Regions from separate parts of the Homo sapiens genome. Here region 1 is linked to region 2. The links are contacts of gene promoters, found by promoter capture Hi-C in human tissues and cell types (Jung and others, 2019). All regions are on one chromosome and are shown on one strand. Each heading gives the region's core, a stretch centred on a gene start or on the middle of the fragment in contact. The rest is flanking DNA. Distances are from core to core; before and after follow the strand shown. Region 1 overlaps LINC01992 (long intergenic non-protein coding RNA 1992). Region 2 holds the start of POLDIP2 (DNA polymerase delta interacting protein 2).

The links. The method cuts DNA at HindIII sites, captures the fragments that hold promoters and counts their contacts. A contact is called where the count stands out against the background at its distance.
Region 1: a contact is called between a fragment that was not itself captured here and the fragment with the promoter of POLDIP2 in region 2, in 1 of the 25 tissues and cell types used here (dorsolateral prefrontal cortex).

Annotation. Positions count from the first base shown.
Region 1 is chr17:27,941,983-27,948,561 of GRCh38, reverse strand. The region is part of intron 2 of LINC01992 (long intergenic non-protein coding RNA 1992); the gene reads left to right. Among named protein-coding and RNA genes, the nearest start is that of LINC01992, 46 kb to the left of the region's middle. RefSeq lists enhancers at 3,176-3,235, 3,286-3,345. The HindIII fragment of the contact is 3,084 bases long and covers 3,765-6,579 here.
Region 2 is chr17:28,351,899-28,358,776 of GRCh38, reverse strand. POLDIP2 (DNA polymerase delta interacting protein 2) reads left to right here and starts at 1,250. Exons shown (of 11, transcript NM_015584.5): 1 at 1,250-1,489; 2 at 2,901-2,982; 3 at 4,192-4,289; 4 at 4,986-5,082; 5 at 5,461-5,536; 6 at 5,758-5,865. The coding sequence starts at 1,329. VMA12 (vacuolar ATPase assembly factor VMA12) reads right to left here and starts at 1,130. Exons shown (of 6, transcript NM_152464.3): 1 at 896-1,130. The coding sequence starts at 1,106. RefSeq lists enhancers at 873-972, 1,085-1,850 and a silencer at 1,163-1,552. The HindIII fragment of the contact is 19,434 bases long and covers 1-2,029 here.

The sequences.
Region 1 (6,579 bases), core at 4,057-6,556, 410 kb after region 2:
TACCTCTAAAAGGGTACACAAAAAACTCTAGTAATTGTCTATGAGGAGAATGGAGGGTCAGGTAGGAAAGGAAACCTAGTTTTCTTTTTTTTTTTTTTTGAGACGGAGTCTCACTCTGTTGCCCAGGCTGGAGTGCAGTGGCGCGATCTCAGCTCACTGCAAGCTCCGCCTCCCGGGTTCACGCCATTCTCCCATTCTCCTGCCTCAGCCTCCTGAGTAGCTGGGACTACAGGCGCCCGCCACGACTCCCGGCTAATTTTTTGTATTTTTAGTAGAGACGGGGTTTCACCGTGTTAGGATGGTCTCGATCTCCTGACCTTGTGATCCACCCGCCTCGGCATCCCAAAGTACTGGGATTACAAGCCCACCGCGCCCAGCCTCTAGTTTTCATTTATACTCATATGTGGGGTTGTAATTTTCTTTATTATGTGTGTTTATTCACATAATTACATTCATACAATTTTTAAAATTAAGGTGGAATTCACATAACATAAAATTAACCATTTTAAAGTGAACAATTTAATTAATTTAATGACATTTAGTACCTTCACAGTATCGTGCAACCTCTATCCAATTCTAAAGCATTTCCATGATTCCAATGCAAACCCCTTATCAAGCAGTTTCTCCCCATTACTCTCTCTCCCCAGCTCCAGCAAACAACCAATCTCCATTCTATTTCTGTGAATTTGTCTATTCTGGATATTTCATATAAATGAAATCATATAGTACATAATCTTTTGTGTCTGGCTGCTTTCACTTAGCATAAAGTTTTTGAGGTTTATCCACGATCTAGCATGTATCAGTACTTCATTCCTTTTTATGGCTGAATAATATTCTGCTATATATGCCACAATTTGTTAAGCCACTCGTCTGTTGATGGACATTTGGACTGTTTCCACCTTTTGGCTATTGTGGATGCTGCTGTAATAAACATTCCTGGAGAGGTACTGGGTTGGGTATTAGTTTTCAGTTCTTTTGAGTGTATACCTAGCAGTGTAATTGCTGGATCATATAGTAATTCTATGTTTAATTTCTGAGGAATCACCATGCTGTTTTCCACTGCACCTGAAACATTTTATATTCCAATTAATACAATCTTAAAGGTTCCAAAGGTGTTGGGTAAAAAGAGGAAAAAAATAAACTATTAAACTTCTGTTTCCAAAATTGGAAAACTTTAATCATTTCCCTAACATCTAAGCAGGCACTTGGGCACACTTCCTGGCTGGATCCTGCTTGCTACACTAGCACAAAGAGAAGGGGCTGGCTGCTCACCCTCCTCCTGCCCCCTCTCACTTGCCCTCCACATACGTAGTCACTTGTAACTTATTGTTACTGACTTTGAATGGAAGCTTTCAGCTGCTCCATCCTTCCTCTGTTGGTTGAAGGGCTGTCAATGGGATGGGAATTACAACCGTAGCTGCTGTTATCTGTGTCGTATGGCTGGCTGTGTATTACTGGCTGCACTTGCCAGGGAATTAATCCCCTAAGTGTGGATGGCAAATGATGAAAACCTGGCACATAAATAAGGAGACAGGCAGCGCTCCACTGACATGCCTTGGGAAGTGATCAGCTTGTCCCTGTGCACCATACTCAATGTCTCCAAGCTCAAGGGCCATTCATCCGCAGGGAAACAGCCAGACTTTCATTCATTCATTCAATGAACATTTATGGAATAGAGCACCTATTCTGTGCAGCACCGTTCTAGACATTTTTATGAGTTGTATTGTGTAAGACTTACAATAGAAAGATATTATTGTCCTCAGTTCAAAATGAGGAAGTGGAGATTCAGAGAAATTAATAAATTTTCCCATCATCACACAGCTAGTATGTAGTGGAACCAGGACTTGGACTGAATTCCCTAGGGCCTCCCTCTCTGTCTCACTTCCTTCTACACTTATTTACAGCAAGCTGTATGTGCCAGGCACCCATGGTAGGCACTGAGGATATCATAGTGAACCAGACAGACTGGTGTAAACTGTTCCCTGTTGCTTTTCCATTGTGTCCTATGACTCCTGGGCATCATCTCAAACCTACTCGATTTCTTCTCAAATGTTCCTTCTTACATAATGACCAATGCAGCACAGTCCAAAGAGCTGTGAGGTTGAAGATGAATTAAATTCAGGCCCTGGGTTCATGCCTCTTTGAATATAGACCTAAAATCTCATGGTTCCAAGATGTGATTAGCAAATTTCATCATGCCCCTCTTGCTCCAAAACCTCCCATGGCCCAGGGCCTACAAACATTTCTGTGACATGAAAAATGGTAAAGACTCAAGTGGGGCTCTCCATGGGAGCTGAACCATGCACAAAGGTTGAGGAGAGCATTTTAAAAAGTGCTTTTCTGTGCATAATGCGAAATTCATGGATAGAGAGGCATCAGCTAGGCGTCAGACCATGGAGGGAGGCATTTCTCCAAACTGAGAAACAAGGCAAGGCTTCAAGACTGAAAGACCATGACTAAGAAAAAAAAAGTCTGAAAGACCAGCTGTCCCTAGAAGATGCTGTCAAGACCCACACACATCCAGTTCATTTGTGTACGGCACCCAGGCCCTCCGTTTATCATCTTTGGTTCAGGTTTTGCATATTCGGGTAAGTTTGTGCTTAGGTTATGCAAGTAAACATATGCTGAGAGGTAGCAATGTTTATTTCAGTGGAAGCATTTATTTTAATAGCTTTATAAATCACACCAGGATTGCATTTATAGCATCATTAAGGAACTGAAGGGGTCACTTAAATGCTTAAGTTAGACTTTGCTGCTGCACTTTATGGGAGACATTATATGCTGTCAAAGGCAGAAGGATAAGAAGCTAGGTCCCACCTTCCTGTTCCCCCTACACTCCATATCCCCAAATACCTAGATTTTAAAATGAAGAGTTATAGACAGTGAACAGAAAGACTTTAGTAGTGTCCTTGTATCATTGCCAGTCTCCTCTTGAGGACTAAAAACTTCAGGATTTGGAGTCTAGAGACCCACAATCTGGGCTTTATACACCATCTATATAGGGCAGGGGTCCCCAACCCCTGAGGGACCAGTACCAGTCCATGGCTTGTTAGGAACCAGGCTGCAGAGCAGGAGCTGAGTGGAGGGCAGGCGAGCATGACCACCTGAGCTCTGCCTCCTGTCAGAGCAGCGGCGTCATTAGAGTCTCGTAGGAGCGGAAACCCTACTGTGAACTGCACATGGGAGGGATCTAGTTTGCGTGCTCCTTATGAGAATCTAACTAATGTCTGATGATCTGAAGTGGAACAGTTTCAGCCCAAAACCATTTCCCCCCTGCCCCTTGTCCATGAAAAAATTGTCTTCCACAAAACTGGTCCCTGGTGTCAAACAGGTTGGGGACTGCTGGTGTAAGGGACTTTGGAAAAAATCACTTGAACTTCCTGGGCCCATTTCCTCGATTGTAAAAAACAAAATGAAACAAAACAAAACAAAACAAAGCAAAATGGGAACTATAACAACCACAAGGCTGTGGCTTTGTAAACAATGTAACAAGACCCCATCTCCACACACACAAAATTAACAATTAGCCAGGTGTGGTGATGCATGCCTGTTACGGCTTTTGTAATTCCCCAACCTCACTCCAGAGACTGCTGCTGGGTTTAGGGCTGAGATGAACAGGGGCCTCTGAAGGGAAGTGTATTTGTTTCCTGTGGCCGCCATAACAAATGACCACATACTGGAAGGCTTGACATAATGGAAACGTGTTGTCTCATAGCTCTGAAGGCCAGAAGTTTGGAATCAAGGTGTCAGCAGGGCTGGTTCTTTCTGGAGGCTCCGAGGGAGAATCTGTTCCCTGTGTATCTCCTCGCTTCTGTGGCTCTGCAATCCAATCCTGGCATGCTGTGGCTTGCAGATGTATCCCTCTGATCTCTACACCCTGTCTTCATGTGGTTTTCCCCCTGTGTCTCTTTGTCTCCAATTTCTCCTTTCTTTTATAAGGACACTAGTCATTGCATTTAGACGCACCCTAAATCCCGGATAATCTCATCTTCAGATCCTTACCTTAATCACATCTGCAAAGATTCTACTTCCAGATAAGATCACATTCACAGGTACCAGGGGTTAGGACTCAATTTCACCCACTATAGGCAAGAACATGTAAATCCTATCTAAGAGAGGAGGCTAAAATTCATGGCAAGAATGAGGATCTGGACCAGATTAATTAGGGTGGGAGGTAAGGGATGAATATGAGGGGCAGGAGGACTGGCTTTCACGTGGTACTATCCATGGTGTGTGTTGGCGGGGCGGGGTGGGGGACAGAACTAGCAGTTACAAAAAGCCGAACTGAACCACCCACCACTTGTCTCATGCCAAAATAGGAGCTGAAAATTTAGTAGTGGCCAGGCACCATGGCTCATGCCTGTAATCCCAGCACTTTGGGAGGCCAAGGTGGTGGGAGGATCCTTGAGGAACTCCCAGTAGTTCGAGACCAGCCTGGACAATGTAACAAGACCCCATCTCCACACAAAAAAATTACAAATTAGCCAGGTGTGGTGATGCATGCCTGTAGTCCCAGCTACTTGGGAGGCTGGGGCAGGAGGATGGCTTGAGCCCAGGAGTTCAAGGTTGCAGTGAACTATGATTGTGCTACTGCTCTCTACTGGTATTTGTTACTCTTCCAGAGATATTTTTAAGGGCAAGAACTCTGAAGTCAGACTGTCGCGTGCAAACCCAGGCTGTTTGGCTGTCTTAGTCCATTTTGGTGCTACAACAGAATATTTGGGATGGACTAATTTATAAAGAATGGAAATTTATTTCTCACAGTTCTAGAGGCTGGGAAGTCCAAGATCAAGGTGCCAGCATCTTGTGAGGATCCTCTTGCTGTATCATCCCATGGAGGAAGGCAAGAGGATAAGAGAGAGAAAAAAGGGGAAAACTGGACCTTTTATAAGAACCCACTCCTTTGATAATGGCATTAATCCATTCTTGAGAGCGGAGTGCTCATGGCCTAATCACCTCTTAGTGGTCTCACCTCTTAATGCCATCACAATGGCAATTAAATGGCAACATGAGTTTGGGAGGGGACAAATATTTAAACCATAGCAATGACTTTGGGTAAATCACTATGCCTAACTTAGGTTGAGTTCCTTAAAAAGAGCCTGAGACAAGATTCCAACGCACTTGATTTATTGAGGGAGTGCTTTTGGGAGAAAAGGGGCAAGGAAAGCAGGATAGAGGTAGCAAATGGATCTAAGCAAGAATGTAATCCCAGCTAGAGTCTAGCTTTTGCTTGACTCCACCGCAAAAAAATTTGGAGGGAGAATTGCACCATACAGTTGGTCCCACTTTGTGGTGGTCCTGCCCTGCATCAACTAGTCAGTGGCTGAGGGCTGCCATAGTGGGAGGGGAAGGCAGTGTATAACTTCCTAGGTGAGACCACTCCTATCCAGCCAGGGGCAATTCTCTGGAAAGAGGGGAAGCTGTGAGTCTTTAGCAGCCAACATTTACAGCCAGGAAAGGGAACTAACAGTATTCACTATGTATAACTTTGTATACTTCAGTTTCCTCAACTACAAAATGGAGCTGGTAATAGTAACTATCTCATATGATTGTTAAGCCATTTAAATATGTTAATATATGTGAAGCCTGCCACATGTACATGTTCAGTAAATCTTAGCTATGATTATTGTAATATTTATTGATGAGTAACAAACCATCCCAAAATTTAGCAGCTTAAAATAACAAACATTTATTAGATAACTCAGTTTCCGAGGACTAGAAATTAGGAATGGCTTAGATGGGTGGTTCTGGTTGATGGCCTTTCACGAAGATGCAGTGAAATGTCAGCTGGGGCCGCAGTCATTTGAAGGTTTGACTGGGGCTGGACAGTCTGCTTCCAAGGTGGCACACTCACGCAGCTATTGGCAGGAGGCCTCAGTTCCTTACTCCATGGACATCTGCATTGGCTGCTTGTGTGTCCTAGTGATGTGGCAGGTGGCTTCTACCTTAGCAAACAATCCAAAAGAGGGAACTAGGAGGAATCTACAAAACACTTTATAACCCAGACTTGGAAATCACACACCATAACTTCTGCTATATTTTATCGGTCATGAGTCACCCAGTCCAAGCCATGCTCAAGGAGATGGGAATTAAGTTCTGTCTCTTAAAAGGAACAATATTGAATAACTGTGGAATTTAAAATCTACCACAATTAGTTATTGTTAATTTCTATAGTAAGCTTGGAAACTACTGATTTGTCCTCCAAGGAAAATTTGTGTTTGAAAAATGAACACACAAGTAGGCCACGAATAAATCTCAAGCAATGGATCATTCATGCATTTACATAAAGTAGCTGTCTTTTTACTATTATTATTATTCTATATCTAGAAATAAAGTAGTTGTTTCTGGGAAGGGGAGACTTGCAGGGCCCGCTGAATAACACCATACCTTCCATTTGCACACTAGCATACCGCCACTGCCCCAGAAAAATTCCACTTCTCTTGATTGGCCAGTGGAGTCCAAGAAGCTGCAAACCTCTGGTATAGTCAATTGTTTAACCTTTCCTAACTACACACACAAACACACACACACACACCCCTCATGATTCTGTTCTGCTTAATCTTTTAGCTTCCTGGATTC
Region 2 (6,878 bases), core at 1-2,500:
ATTGAAAAGAATTTTGGATAATTCCATGTAGGTATCTCCCAGTGCTGCGCAGGTGACTTTAGCTGTCAGCTCTCAATTATCCTGCCAGTGTTATAACTAACAAGTAAGCCATTTACTTGTGCCTTTGGGTTAGATCAGTTCTGTGGCCACAACAGCTCTTCCCTAAATAAGTTTAGGTCATAGTGATGCTAAATGCTCAGAGGACACTAATACTAGGCAATCTCTTTCTAAGGTCCTTTCTAGTTCTAATAATTGAGCAGTCTACCCTTTGCACTTCTGGCTGGTCTATGTTACTTCTGGCAAAATACCTTATGTGCTAGTTTGTCCTGTTCCTTCCCTTTACACATAAGGGAACTGAGGCCCAGCGAGGAGAAATGACTCCTTCAAAGGATTAGTGACAGAGCTAGGACTGGAACTCACATGCTACTCTCAGGCCAGATCTTTCAACACAGCTTTTGCCATCCTATATTAAAAAAACAAACAAACAAAACAAAGTATCAGATTTCACCACTCTTGCTTTTGAGGTGGAAAGAAATCCGGATTCCTACAAGCTCACTATGCTAAGCTGATTCCTAAAGTGGAGAAAAAGAAGAGACAAAACCTGTGATATTTGTATTTGGTAAAAACCTAGACTTTCTCAAGGGTGAATTGGGCCTAGGTGTGCCTGGAAGTGAAGAGGGGGCTCTCAAAAGAGCAGAAACTGCACAAGCAAATTTGTCATCCACGAGAAATTCCCATGGGAGTTAAGAAAGTGGGTGGCCCTGGGATTTATGGAGTGACTCTTGACTTGTCTAGATGAGTGCTCCGTAGAAGAAGGGGAATGATGGGAAAAGACCTCAGGAGGGAATCGATCTGGACACAAGGAGGGGACCCCGGACTGGAGACTGGGGCTCACCCCTTTCTCTCAGATGCTGGTGCAGATCCCGGATGAGACGGAAAGAAACCAAGCGTTGGGGGCCACTGGAGCTATCACCGCCCTTGTGCTTCTTCCCCAGCGCGGCCTCAAGCTCGGCCCGCAGCTTTCGGGGTAGCCGCTCTGGCTCCAGCTCCCCGCCGGGGCCCAAAGCACGCACCAATCGCTCGCCCGCAAGCAAAGAGGACGCCATATCTAGCCGGCTCTCCGGTCAGGTGACCCCAACCCGGACTTCCGCCCGCCGCGCGCCGGAAGTAACGCTAAGCGCACCGGAAGTTGCTCTGAGCTCCGGGGTGGGACCAGGCGGGCCAAGAGGGCCGGGACGCCGCGCGGGGCAGTGTGGGACTGGGGCGGAACGCCGCCCGGCCGCGGGTCGGGCTCTGTGTCAGCAGCCGGGCGGGCGCTCGGGCGGGACATGGCAGCCTGTACAGCCCGGCGGGCCCTGGCCGTGGGCAGCCGCTGGTGGTCCCGGTCGCTGACTGGGGCCCGGTGGCCAAGGCCGCTCTGTGCGGCGGCCGGAGCTGGAGCCTTCTCGCCAGCGTCGACCACGACGACGCGGAGGCACCTCTCGTCCCGGTGAGGGACGGAGCCAGGGGGCGCGAGGAACTGGGCCTGGAGCCCAGAGAGCGTGTTCCTAGCCAGTGCGGAGGCCAGGGGCCCGGGCCTGCTGAGGGTGACTGGAGTTTGACCCGGGAGAGGGTCCCGAGCAGGGAGCCGACCTGCGCTGTCTGGGACATGTGCCAGGAGCAGGGAAGCCAGCGCGGCCCAGAGCCCTGGTTGTACAGGGCTGGCCCTGGGGGGGAACAGGTTACCCTCCCCAAGTGAATCCTACTTCCCCGGCTGGGGTCCCCAGCACCGATGTCAGAGGGAAGCTTTTTAATTCAGCCCTAGGGCATTGGCTTGAACCCTCAGCCTTTGGATTTGGTGAAGGTCTGCCTCAGAAAGATGCTAGAGGTGGGAAACGAGACTCTTGGGTGTGGACCCTCGTAGGCCCCAGGTTTCCAAGTGACTTTGGGGAGATCGATTTTCTATCTGTGACTTGGGGAAGGGGGTTTGAGGCCATGGGGATGGTGTGGAAACTGTTTCCACGGATGGGACAGGCGGATCAAATGGGCTGGTGGATCAGTGGGAGGAAGCATAAAGTTCACATCTTCAAAACAGTAAAAACAGCCTTTATTTGAAGGGCCCCTAGAAAGAGCAGCCCTGTTCAGAGTGGTGACTGACATTTTAGTGGCTGATATTAGACACTGAACATTGGGGAGAGATGATAGCTATTTGCAATTTAAGACCCCTGTGAGAATATGAACAAAAACGGTATTGAGAGAGCGATGTGCCGTAGGAAATCTAGAGATGTTTAAGCTTTTCAAGGGCAATGTAAGGGCTACAGGTTAGAGGGGGAGATGGACATGGAATTATAATACAGGACAAATATTTTTTGAGCACCTCTTGTACACTAGGCTCTGAGGGGGCAGTACCAGCTAATCAGACTCAGGCATTGCTCCCAGGGAATTTACAGTATTTAATAAAGATAAGACATGGACACAACTGAAATGTAAAGGGAGCAGGATATTGTTTGATGACTTGTGATATAGAAAATGTAAGAAAAGAAGAAAAAAAGATACTCCCCTTCTAAAAAAATTGAAAAAGTGAGCAAGACAGTTAAAGTGCTGTGGGAGGTCAGGAGGGTGGGTTAGGGAAGAAACAAGGGCAGGGGTACATTTGAGCAGAGTGTGAGGGCATGATATGAAGAATGCCCAGTGAAGAGAGAAGACAGTAGTATGGGAGCGGTCACATCTAACACTGGGAGACTGTGGAGGTTTTCACCAAGGAGGAGGAAAGCCTTTCCTGCTCCAGCTGGTCCCACTACCCCAAACCCTTCTCTGCTGTCATCGCCCTGGCCCCTCAGTATCCTAGGAGCTTTTTCTTATGGATAACTACCATTACCTTCTCAGCTTTTCTGTTGCTTGTTCTTTTCCTTCCTACTCAGAAACCGACCAGAGGGCAAAGTGTTGGAGACAGTTGGTGTGTTTGAGGTGCCAAAACAGAATGGAAAATATGAGACCGGGCAGGTGAGTATTGGGCTGGGTCATCTTTCATTTTCATAGAGTGCTCTGCTTCTGAAAAAAGTCAGATTAGGTCACAGGCCTGCATGGTATGGTGTTCCATTCATTCCACCTTGATGTTTGGTGCCATTCCAGAATCAAATTTGTATTCATTTTTTATTTTATTTATTTATTTTATTTATTTATTTTTTGTGAGACGGAGTTTCAGTCTTGTTGCCCAGGCTGGAGTGCAATGGCATGGTCTCGGCTCACTGCAAGCTCCACCTCCTGGGTTTAAGCAGTTCTCCTACCTCAGCCTCCCTAGTAGCTGGGATTACAAGCATGCGCCACCACACTTGGCTAATTTTGTACTTTTAGTGGAGATGCGGTTTCTCCATGTTGGTCAGGCTGGTCTCGAGCTCCCGACCTCAGGTGATCCACCTGCCTTGGCCTCCCAAAGTCCTGGGATTACTGGCGTGAGCCACCGCACCCAGCCCAGAATCAAATTTTTATAGATAGGGTTTCTGTTCTCCTGGATTTGAATGCACTTAATGTGTCAGTGGGTTCTCTTTCCAAGTTAATGTGGACAGGGATGGTGTGGACTATAGTGAGGTTTAGCCAAGTTGCTGAAGATTTCTCTAACATAGTGGATGGTGGGAAGCCGTGGAGGGAGCTTTCAGAAAAGTATACCTTTGATGCTTTGCCGTAATAAAATTGACTTCAGTGTGGTAAACTCTGGATGTGTGGTTCTTTTTCTATATCAGCTTTGTTCTGGGTCCACTGGGATAGATTTAGGCCCTTCTAGGATATTGTAGGTAAGGAAGACTTTTTGTTTGTTCAACATTTTATTTTTCTGTGTGCCTACAATGGACTAGGCATTGTGCATTAGGGTTAAATCAGAAAGCAAAGTAGACATGATTCCTGCTATTGTGGAGTTTCTAGTCTAGAAAAGAACGATTTGCAAATGGCCAATAGCTGTACATTGTGCTAAGTGGAAGGGAGGTCAGGGAAGGCTTCCTGGAGGCCTAAGCTTTTACCTAAAGGATGAGTAGAGTCAGCCAGGTAAAGAAGAAATAAGAGTGTTCCAGCATTGGTCTGGTTGATCACAGACTTCAAGGGAAGAGGTAGCAAGACCTTGTGCTGGAGTTGCCTCCACCTGTGTTGCTTTGTGGTCTGGGGCCCACCTGGATGGATTTGCTGGACTGCAGACTCACTGAGGCCCCTCTTTCCTTCCAGCTTTTCCTTCATAGCATTTTTGGCTACCGAGGTGTCGTCCTGTTTCCCTGGCAGGCCAGACTGTATGACCGGGATGTGGCTTCTGCAGCTCCAGAAAAGTAAGTTTCCCTGTGGTTGTGCCTCACAGTATCCTCAGGAGGAGATGGCAGACATATGTAATTGGGGTACTAGGGGTGAAGACAGCGTCCTCCTAGGCCTTGGAAACATCCCCAGAGTACTTCTCTGGGACTAAGACCCATGGAGACAAAAGTGCTGAGTGCCAGGGATAGTCTAAGTCAGAGAGTCCCTTTAGGCCTCCTCAGAATGCTTTCCTAAGCCATTCCTAATTTTCATTATGAGTATCCCAGAGGGCATTTGGGGGACAAGTCTTCTTGATTTCTTGATGTTCAGCTGGAGTCTTTCCCTCAATCTCACATCATCCCTAGAATACATTAAAACAGAAAAGGTTCAGCCCCATTAAGTGATCACAGACAGTCCCTGGGATATAAGAAGACAAGAGTACTCTGGGCCCTGGGGACTGAGGTGGCAATTTGATTTTCTCAACATGGCCCCCTTCTTTTAAGAGGTATCCACACGGTCAGATGATGGCTCCATACCATGGTCTTCCATGCTCTATTATTTGCCCCAACTGAGGAGCAGCTGAGCTGAGGTGCTGCAGAGCAGGTGTCCAGCTGGTGCTAAAGCCCCTTTAGATCAGAGACCAGCCTGTTTAGGTGAGGAGGAGTAGGGAGCTGAGTCAGCCACAGCTTCCATTTCTCCTGGGGTGATCTTGGCCTCCTTCTCCCACCCCATAGAGCAGAGAACCCTGCTGGCCATGGCTCCAAGGAGGTGAAAGGCAAAACTCACACTTACTATCAGGTGCTGATTGATGCTCGTGACTGCCCACATATAGTAAGTAAGCAAGATGGCTGGGCTTGGGGGTCCTCTCCATGGAAAGTCCTGCATCCCAATGGGGACAAAGGGAGGGAAGGGGGTCAAACAGAGCCCAGGTCAGTCTTGGTCCCCAAGGCCTTGGACTGCACAGTGGCCAACAAAGCCCTGATTCACGTCTTTTTTTTTTTTTTTGATATGGAGTCTCACTCTGTCGCCAGGCTGGAGTGCAGTGGTGAGATCTCAGCTCACTGCAACCTCTGCCTCCCGGGTTCAAGTGATTCTCCTGCCTCAGCCACCCGAGTAGCTGGGATTACAGGCATCTGCCACCACACCAGCCTAATTTTTGTACTTTTTAGCAGAGACATGGTTTCACCACTGATTCACTTCTTGCCTTAGTCTCAGAGATCTCAGACAGAAGCTGTGACCTTCTTGGCTAACCATGATGACAGTCGGGCCCTCTATGCCATCCCAGGTGAGTAGTTAGCATTTGAATGGTGCCCGTCAAGAAGGAGTCTGGTGTGTCTCAGGGAGAGGATTCTGATGTCCTGTCATCCACTGGGAGGGATTATGATGCTGAGAGGTATGATATCAGGGTTATCCCATACTGGAACAAGGCCAGTTAATGTTTCTTCTCAACCCCATCTCTCTCCTCTCCTGTGAGTTTCACCACTGTCTTTTGCATCTCTGTGCCAGGCTTGGACTATGTCAGCCATGAAGACATCCTCCCCTACACCTCCACTGATCAGGTTCCCATCCAACATGAACTCTTTGAAAGATTTCTTCTGTATGACCAGACAAAAGGTAATCTCTCTCAAGAAGGGGAGGTGGAATGGGAGGGCCTTTTCATCAAAGAATATCATAGAAATAATTCCAGGGCCGGGCACGGTGGCTCACGCCTGTAATCCCAGCACTTTGGGAGGCCCAGGCAGGTGGATCATCTGAGGTCAGGAGTTCAAGACTGGCCTGGCCAACCTGGTGAAACCCTGTCTCTACTAAAAATACAAAAATTAGCTGGGCGTGGTGGTGGGCGCCTGTAATCCCAGCTACCTGGGAGGCTGAGGCAGGAGAATCACTTGAACCCAGGAGGGTGGAGGTTGCAGTGAGCCGAGATTGCACCATTGCATTCCAGCCTGGGCAACAGAGCGAGACTCCATCTCAGGAAAAAAAAAAAAAAAGGCCCGGGTGCTTGTGGCTCACGCCTATAACTCCAGCACTTTGGGAGGCTGACACGGGCAGATCACTAGGTCAAGAGATCAAGACCATCGTGGCCAATGTGGTGAAACCCTGTTTCTACTAAAAATATAAAAATTAGCTGGGTGTGGTGGCGTGCACCTGTAGTCTCAGCTACTTGGGAGGCTGAGGCTGAAGAATTGCTTGAACCCGGGAGGCACAGGTTGTAGTGAGCTGAGATCATGCCACCGCACTCCATCCCGGCAACAGATCAAGACTCCGTCTCCAAAAAAAAAAAAAAAAAAGAAATAATTCCAACGCTCTATTTCCACAACCCTTTTCAACCTCCTGTTAGAGCTGTCATGCCTCATAGGTGTCATACCTGACAGATGACAGATGGCAGTTATTTCCTTACAGATATGGAAACTGAGGATCAGGGATGATGACAAGGGACTCAAGGTTGCTAGTAGCAGAGTGAGGGCTGAAAACCAGGGCTCTTAACTGCCAGTCCGATTGTTTTCCCATTGTATCACACTAGCTCCTCAGGGCTTATTCTTGGTAGCAGTCCTGTGCCTTCTTCCAGCCTGAACTTTTGCTTCATGTATGAGCACCTTGTTTGCCTGGGCCACCACTAGGGAGGGTTT